3 separate regions of the Homo sapiens genome follow, and regions 2 and 3 are each linked to region 1. The links are contacts of gene promoters, found by promoter capture Hi-C in blood cells and fetal thymus (Javierre and others, 2016). All regions are on one chromosome and are shown on one strand. Each heading gives the region's core, a stretch centred on a gene start or on the middle of the fragment in contact. The rest is flanking DNA. Distances are from core to core; before and after follow the strand shown.

The links. Contacts are between HindIII fragments. The CHiCAGO score rates a contact against its expected background, and 5 or more counts as called.
Region 2: a contact is called between a fragment that was not itself captured here and the fragment with the promoter of SLC13A4 in region 1, in 1 of 17 cell types (neutrophils). The highest score is 7.2, in neutrophils.
Region 3: a contact is called between a fragment that was not itself captured here and the fragment with the promoter of SLC13A4 in region 1, in 1 of 17 cell types (neutrophils). The highest score is 6.3, in neutrophils.

What each region holds. Positions count from the first base shown.
Region 1 is chr7:135,726,802-135,729,670 of GRCh38, reverse strand. It overlaps SLC13A4 (solute carrier family 13 member 4), which reads left to right and starts at 1,485. Exons shown (of 16, transcript NM_001318192.2): 1 at 1,485-2,273. The coding sequence starts at 2,175. It overlaps FAM180A (family with sequence similarity 180 member A), which reads left to right. Exons shown (of 4, transcript NM_205855.4): 4 at 1-79. The HindIII fragment of the contact is 523 bases long and covers 1,256-1,778 here.
Region 2 is chr7:136,027,188-136,030,022 of GRCh38, reverse strand. It overlaps a transcript of LOC105375523 not described here. Among named protein-coding and RNA genes, the nearest start is that of MTPN, 51 kb to the right of the region's middle. The HindIII fragment of the contact is 5,093 bases long and covers 1-2,835 here.
Region 3 is chr7:136,047,153-136,049,980 of GRCh38, reverse strand. It overlaps a transcript of LOC105375523 not described here. Among named protein-coding and RNA genes, the nearest start is that of MTPN, 71 kb to the right of the region's middle. The HindIII fragment of the contact is 2,958 bases long and covers 1-2,828 here.

The sequences.
Region 1 (2,869 bases), core at 236-2,735:
ACTTGCTGTACCTATTTTTATTTAACAAATATTCATCTATGGTATAATAAAGATGTCATGATTGAGTTGCTCACTGGAATCTTTGTTATCTCAGAGTATCTCACCGAGGAATTTGGAATGGTTCATGGGTTTAACAGTGGATGTTGACTTCCACAGCTGCTTATAATTATTCGCTGTCTTTAATGTTTGCGACCAAAACATCACACACGTGGTATTGTTCATTCTGAGTTTCAAAATCATAACCAAAAAAAAATGAGGCCAGAATGTAGTAAATACAGTAGCCAGTCTTTAACATGCATTTAAAGAGTTGAGTCATCCTAGCCCATCCTACGATGGCAAGATAATTTCAAAGGGGACCTCAGCTGTCCACAGTTGCACCTGCCTTAAAAGTCAAGAAGAATTTGTTTTTTGGGTCACTTCCCTGGTCACTTTAGCCTGGGGATCATTTCCAAGTAGTATAGTTGCAGATCTTCGAACGCCATTCCTGTGTTCTGTGAATTCAAGACAACATGGGTTTTATAACCCTTTGACTCTGCTCAGCATCTCCCAGATCAAGGTAAGGTAATGTTGCCAAGAACCACTACTTACAGAATGTTTGGGCTTTTGCTTTTGCTTTTCTTCCTTGCCCCAAATCCACATGTCCGTTCTGAGAAAAGAAGCTAACAACTTCTTCCAATCTGTAAACAGGAGAAATTCCAGAGTTCAACTGCAGCTAAGACCTTGTCCCTGAACTTGTCAACTTCTTCCCTGCCCTCCCACCTCCTCCTTTCGTACCAGCCAAAGAAGGTCTTCGGTTTCCTTTTTGGAGAGCCCCAGAGAGAAGCATTTGAGCACCTACTTTAGCCAGAGAGACCACTGACATCTGGGCATGAGACTGGCATCTAGACTTTGCCAGGGAGGCAGCTATACTTCCCAAAAGATCTGGGGTCTTTCTCACGAGCTCATACCCTCTGCTGGCCTAGACCCTTTATATTCCCCCCTCGGTGCTGAGGCAAACGATCTTTGCCAGCAGGGAGGTCTGAAAGGCTTAACTTTGTACACTCTGAGGCAAATTCTCCAGAAGTAATGTTGCATTTTCTCCCTGCCACCAGGCACATTCCCTTCCCAAGGTCTAGATCAGCAGGTGGCCCTCCCAGCGAAAGCTCTGTGTCCTATGATCCGAAACAATAAAGCTGTGCTTGGGTACGTGAGATTATGTTTACGATGATGGTCATCACTCCAGCCCTAGGAAGTTTGAGAAACTGAAAAATAAGCTTAGCAGGCTGCCTAGGTTCTGCGGAATCAGCAGGCCCCCGCTGTGACCAATCAAGAGCGGCCGCGGGGAGAGAAATTGACTCATTCTTTTCAATTTGCTGATTGGCTTTGAGAAGTGGGCGGAGCTACTGTCTCTGTCCCGGCTTCCCATTGGTGGATGAAAGTTAAAGGTGGGCCTCCAGCAAGTTTTGTCCTTTGATAAAAAGGAATGTCTTGGGGACTTTTCTTTTCTGCTTTGCAGGCCCAGGCTCAAGGCAAATTATAAGTAGGGAACCAATTTGAGGGAAAGACATGTGAACAGAGTTAAGGTACCACGTCCTGGGAGCGACCAGCAGCCCCACCTGAAGTCCGCATGCAACTCTGACAAGCTCAGGTGCTTGTTTTAAGGAAAGGGGCTACTAGAGTCTTACCAACAGCGAGCCCAGGTGGGAGATGAAACAGGTACTCCCCAAAATAGGTCATCCGAGGGAGGAAAACTGATGGAGAGCACAATGTGCTCTGAGCGTTTTTAATGTTTTTAAGCTTTTAAATGATTTCTTCAAGGCCGAGCAGCAGCAGCAAAGGTGTGGCTTAAAGGATTAAGGGGGTTTCTGCTGACACCTAGAATGAAGTTACTCTATTACTAATCAAGCCGAGAGGAGGCCCACTATGCCCCCGTTTATCATCCTTTCCCAGTTCCTTTTTGCTGGTCACAAAACGATGCTCATCAATCCCACCTAAAGCAGGAGGCCAGGAGCCCAGCCTCTTGTAGAAACAGCGAGGGTATAACTGCCCTCCCGTTCTGCCCCCAAGACGAAGGAGGACTCTCGGAAGCCAAGAAAGGTTTAAGAAGTCTTTCTGGATAGAGAGCAGTGCCCAGGCAGGAAGCCTTTCGCCGGCAGAGCGGGGTCCAAGGACGAGCTGGAGAGGACAGAGGCGCGATGGGCCTGCTGCAGGGCCTGCTCCGAGTCCGGAAGCTGCTGCTGGTCGTCTGCGTCCCGCTCCTGCTGCTGCCTCTGCCCGTCCTCCACCCCAGCAGCGTGAGTACCGACCTGCGCCCACCGGGGGTCTGGGAGTCAGTGGGAGGGCAAAGAGGGGAGGTCGGTAGGGGAACATGGGGCGCTCAGGCAGTCCCTCAAAGTGGCTTGTGGTGGGTTTAAAGAAATGGAAGGATTTTTCCAGAGGAAACCAAGATATCTTCTTCCTAAAAGCTGTCATGTTCATCTCCTATCCCAGTCCCATTCCCCCAACCCCATGGCCCCCACCGGGGTCAGGACAGAGTAGGGGCCTTGGCAGAAGTGACTGATGGGTGTTGCACCAAGCAGCAGGCCAGCCTGCCCCAGCAGCGGGGGCCAGCGACACCCATGCAAACGACATGGTGCACCTGTGTTTGTCGGGAGTTCACCTGGGACCCTGGTTATCTGAGAGCCCCTGGAGACACAGAAAGAGCTCCCAATAGTGGCACTGAGGAGAAGGTTGGGGGAGGAAGAGAACCGTGGAGCCAATCCGTGGTCTGTGGTCGTGTCCTGGTGGGCTTCGATGACCACAGTTGAAGCTCTAATCCCGAAGGCGCCTATCAACTTCAGGGAATGAATGTTTAGGGAAGGAATGAAAGCAGAACTTAGCAGGCTGCCCT
Region 2 (2,835 bases), core at 137-2,636, 300 kb before region 1:
GATCATATGTGTTTTAAGTACAAAAATAGGTCTTACTTATTTTGATGTCATCTAGAGCAAGGAATTCAGTGTGTAGATTAATAAACTGTTTCCATCTGTCTTACCTTCCTAATGGTATCATGAGTTCTTTGAAGAAATAAACATTTTTTGGTGATAACCAAATACCTCATACAAAAATATTTGGTTATCACCAAAAAAAAAGAGAGCACTTCAATGATGGAAGGTATTATATAACATAACTATTAAGACTAGACAATCTCAGGGTGGAGGAAGACCTTCAGCTCTTATTTTGAGGGGTAAGGGGAACTGAATTCTCATGCTCTGGACCTAAATGTGCCCCCTCCATCAAAAATGTTTGGTTTGTCAAATTCATGGGTGGAGAATAAGGGAATTCCCCAAGGTGTGTATGAGCATTGCAGAATAATGGTTCTTAAGTGTGTAGGGCTCATGAATGGGCTTTAGCCAGTTCATTAACATGTACCCAAAACATGTTTGTGTGTGTAGATGCATTTTTCAATGCAATTATTACATAGCTTGGACTAGACACTCAAGGGAATCTATGACTTAAGATAAAATTAGGAACCCCTGCTGTTAGATAATCTTAGCATAACTACTGTTTTTCCCTAAAAATCATTGGAGAAAATGTTCTTCCATGAATTAAAGTGTCCAGAAAGAGCATTATACATGGGGTGAATATCACACTTTGTAAAACCAAAGAATAATAATAATTAAAAACAGAGAACTCAGAAAGAAGAGAAATGCCTTATACCCAGAGGCACAAAATAGTAATGTGCCCTCTGAAACAAACAATGACTAAAAGCCAACACATGCTTGTTTTAACACCTAGGTTTGAGATATATTAGAAAAAAAATGTCATAGTAATTAACCTTCTACCTCCCATCCATATTCACGGGGAGAAAAATAAACAAAAGTTTAGCAATTGCAAAACTCAGGGAGCCAGATATACCCAACTATTTCCTTCAAGAAAATTTTATCACTGCTTTCCATTCTACTCAAATGATCACAGTATAGCCTAGTACAGAAAGGAAAAGATCGCTGACCTACTGCTTTTATATAAACTAATTTCTTCATGTGTCTTATTCCTTTATAAAGCAAATTGAGCCAGGCACTGTAATAGGTGCTAGAGGTAGAAAAGACATCCCTAACATCAGGGAGTTTGCAATTTGAAAGAGAACAAGATAAGGAGGCAAAATTCAAATAAATAAAATGGTTTAAATGGTTATATGTTATGTTTAATGCTATTGTGGAGACAAACAAGATTCTTAAGTTTAGAATAGTCAAGGAAGATCTTTCTAAAGAAGTGTTACTTAAGCTAAGACAAAGATTGTTAAGAAGAGCTGTAGACATACATAGAATGAGAAAAAGATTCTACAGATGAGAAAAGAACATGTTCAAAGACTATGAAACAAGACAGAGCATGGAATTTTTGAGAAAGGAAAAAGAAGAATGGATGAAGTCCATCCACTAGGGAAAAGAAAGTTAAGACATATGATTGAAGAAGGGATGAGATTATGCAAATCCTAGAGATGATGGTTTAAACCTCAGACCTTGTTCTAGGTACAATGGCAAGTCCCTGGAGAGTTTTAAGCAGGCCTGGGGGTGACCTCATACAATTTCTGTTTTAAGCACATTACCTTTAATAATATGAGAAGAATAAATTAGTGTGGGAAGACTAAAAGATATTGATCTGGAATAAATGGTAGCAATGGAGTTCAAAAAAAGGGAGATTAGGGCATATTTAAGAAATACAACAAACATAATCTTCTGATAGATGAGACTTGTGCAAGAAGAGAAAGGAAGGAATCAAATATCATTCCTGGGATTCTTGGAGTAGCCAAGAGGATTGTGAGGCCATTTGCTGAGATTGAGATTTGTGGGAAGTGTTAACAATGCATTTTGAACTTATAAATTTTGCCATATCTGTGAGACACTCAGGTGGAAATGTCAAGTAGGCAGCTGGATCTGCAAGAATGGAGTTCTGATGAGGGATCAGGGCAGAAGGTATGTTTGGTAGTCTTTAACATTAGGACCAAATTTGTTTGGTATTTGAATCCATAGAATAGATGAAATCCATCTAGGGAGAAAAATCAGAAAAGGGAAAAGGGTCCGTAAGAGCTCCCCAGAAAACAATCATTTAGAGGATTAGTTGAGCAGGGGAAGCAGGCAAGGGAGTCTGAGCAGGGGGTGCTGGTGAAATAGGAGAAAGCCGGAGGCATGAGGAGCATTAAAAAAGGAGAATTCTTCAAGAAGTGGTCAAGTGGATTAGATGCTGCTAAAAACAATCACGTTAGATAAGAATAGAGAAATGTCTACTAGATTTAGCAAAATGAAAATCACTTTCTACCTTGACTTTGACAATGGTTTCAGCAAATTGGTGGTCACAGTGGAAGCCAACTATAATGGCTCAGGGAGGAGATGAAAAATGAAGAAGAAATTTCTATAATGGCTGCACAGACAACGGTTGAAGTCTGACCAGGAAAAAATGCAAAGAAATACTCCAGCCCGAAAGGTCAAGGAGTTGGTTCAAGTCCTTGCTTGTTTGCTCAGAGAGCCTAGAAAATGTTTGTGTGCAGCTGAGATGATCTGATTGAAAGGAAAAGATGACTAAAGCAGGAGGAAGAGAACATAAAGAAACAAAGTTCTCAATAAGGTGAGCTGGCATAGGATCCAGAGCACACAGGGAAGGGCTGACCTTTAACAGGATGGCAGTCAGTCTGGTCAGGCAGTCAGTCTGATCATGTGATATCTCACAGCTGACCCCCTTCCATGGGTTCCCAAATCAATAAAACTCTTTGTTATCTTGAGCAAATCAGT
Region 3 (2,828 bases), core at 112-2,611, 320 kb before region 1:
AGCCTTCTAACTGGACTCCCAGTCTTCAGTCTCACCCACCTGCAGTGCATCCCACCCATTGGTCAGATTAATCTTTTTAAAACATGCCTCCTAGAGCATGCCATCACACTGTTTAAATCATTAGAGGCCAAGGTGAGAGGATCACTTGAGCCCAGGAGTTCAAAACCAGCCTGGGCAAAATGGAGAGATCCTATCTCTACCAAATAAAAAATACATTAAAAATTAGCCAGTTGTGGTGGCATGTACCTTTAGTCCCAGATACTGAGGAGGCTGAGGCAGGAGGATTGTTTGAACCCAGGAAGTTGAGGCTGCAGAGAGCATTGATCATGCCACTGCACTCCAGCCTGGGTGACACAGTAAGACCCAGTCTCTAAAAGGAAAGAGAAAAATTAAATTGTTAGAGGTTCTCTCTTGACTTTGAGAGAGTGTTCAGGCTCTTCAGATGGATCTGCCAAAATATGGCATCAACCTAGCTCACCATCGTTATCTCTCACTATTCAATGAAGGCTGGGAGCTTCCACTCCTCCCAAACAGACCATGGAGATGCCTACACTCACACTGTGGGTTCAGCCAGCTTCCCACCAGGAACGCTCCCCAACTTCCCCAACGCTCCTCCTATTGTCTCGGTCAGAGGTCGAAGTGATGCAATTGCTGTATCTGAAGATAAGGGGGCAACAAGCCAAGGAATGCAGGTGGCCTCTAGATACTGGAAAGGGCAAGGAACCAGAATCTCCCCGAGAGCCTCCCAGAGGAACTTAACCCTGCTGACATTCTGAGGTCAGCCCTGGAAAACTCGTCTCAGACTTCTGAGCCTTGGGGCTTCCTTTCTTTCCTCTCTTGTAGCATTTATTATGTGTACTGATAATCTAACACACAGTACTCTCTATCTTAGATCATTATTACTTTGTGTACACATTCTTCTCCCCTACAAGATTTTAAACTTCTAAGTGGAAGAATCAAGTTTTATGTCTCTTTCTCTCTTCAAGCACACTTAGGCCACTCTAAATATTTCATTTGTCTGCCTAAAACCTTCACTAGTTTCCTAATGCCTTCCAAATTAGGTACAAACACTTAACATTCTGAGTCTTCTGCAATTTGAAACCTAAATATTTTTGTTTTCTCTCTTACCTTGTTGCACTGTCGTGTTCCCCAAATTATCCTGAACTTTCCTGTCACCATGCTTCTGCTGATGCCATTGTCTTCATCAATGTCTGTGCTCCCAACATGGAGGCCACTAGCCACATGCAGCTAATGAGTCCTACAAATTGGGCTTCTTCAAATTGAGATGCACTGTTAAGTGTAAGGTCATACCAAACTTCAAAGACTTCACACAGGAACAAAAAGCATGTAACATACCTCAATAATTCATTTATATCCCTTACATATCAAAATGATAATATTCTCGATATTCAGAATTAAATAAAATATATTATTAAAAGTAATCTCAGGCTGGGTGCCTGTAATCCCAGCACTTTGGGAGGCCAAGGCAGGTGGATCACTTGAGGTCAGAAGTTTGAGACCAGCCTAGCCAACATGGTAAAACCCCATTTATACTAAAAATACAAAAATTAGCTGGGCATGGTGGCGGGCGCCTGTAATCCCAGCTACTCCAGAGGCTGAGGCAGGAGAACTGTTTGAACCTGAGAGCTGGAGGTTTCAGTGAACCAAGATCACGCCATTGCACTCCAGCCTGGGCAACAGAGTAAGACTCTGTGTCAAAACAAAATAAAATAAAATAAAATAAATTTCACCTTTTTTTCTTCTTTAATGTATCTACTAGAAATGTTTACATTATATTTGGTTTATATTATATTTCTACTGGATATAGCTAGTCTAGAAGGTTCTCTTCCCACCACCTCTCCTAAACTAAATCTGATCTTCACCCCTTCAAGTTTTACCCAGCCTCTAGTCTCAAATGAAATACTGTTTGCACAGATCCATTCCTGATTCTTGATCCTCATTTCCAGGTGTGATTTGTTCTCTTCTGAACGCTACCCATGACTAACAGCATTTTATTTCTACCTATTTAAGAGGTAGAAATCAAGCCGTATGCTGCTTTGAATTAACAGGTTACAGCGGATTTTTCTTCACATCCTTTTCATTGACTAGCACAGTTCACTATATGTAGCTGTCCCTCAGTATGTGGAAGGGATTGGTTCCTGGACATCCCCATACCAAAATCTGGATATGCTCAAGTCCCTCATACAAAATAAAATAGTGTTTGCATATAACTTAGGCACATCTCCCATATACTTTAAATGATCTCTAGATTACTTATAATATTTAATATAATGTAAATGCCATGTCAATAGTAGTTATATTGCATAGCTTAAGGAATCATGATGAGAAAAAAGTCTGTATATATTCAGTACAAATGCTTTTTAAAAACTATTTTCAATCTGCAGTCAGTTAAATCCATGGACGCAGAACCCACAGATGATGCAGGACCGATTGTACAGTAGTAGCTATCCATATTGAACACTGTGGTAGGCGGAATAATGGCCCCCAAAATGCTCACAGCTTAATCTTCAGAACCAAGGTGAATAGGTTACCTTACATGGCAAGGGGGAATTAAGGTTGCAAATAAAATAAAGGTTGCTAGTCAACAGACCTGCAAATAAGGAGATTACCCTGGATTATTCAGGTGGCACATCATAATCAAAAGGATCTGCTATGGTTGCAGTGTTTTTGTCCCCTCAAAATTTATGTTGAAACGTAATCACCAGCACAACTGTCTTAAGAAGTGGGGCCCTTGGGAGGTGATTAGACCCTGAGGGCTCTATCCTCAAGGATGGAATTAGTGTCTCACAAAAGGGCTGATGTGTACT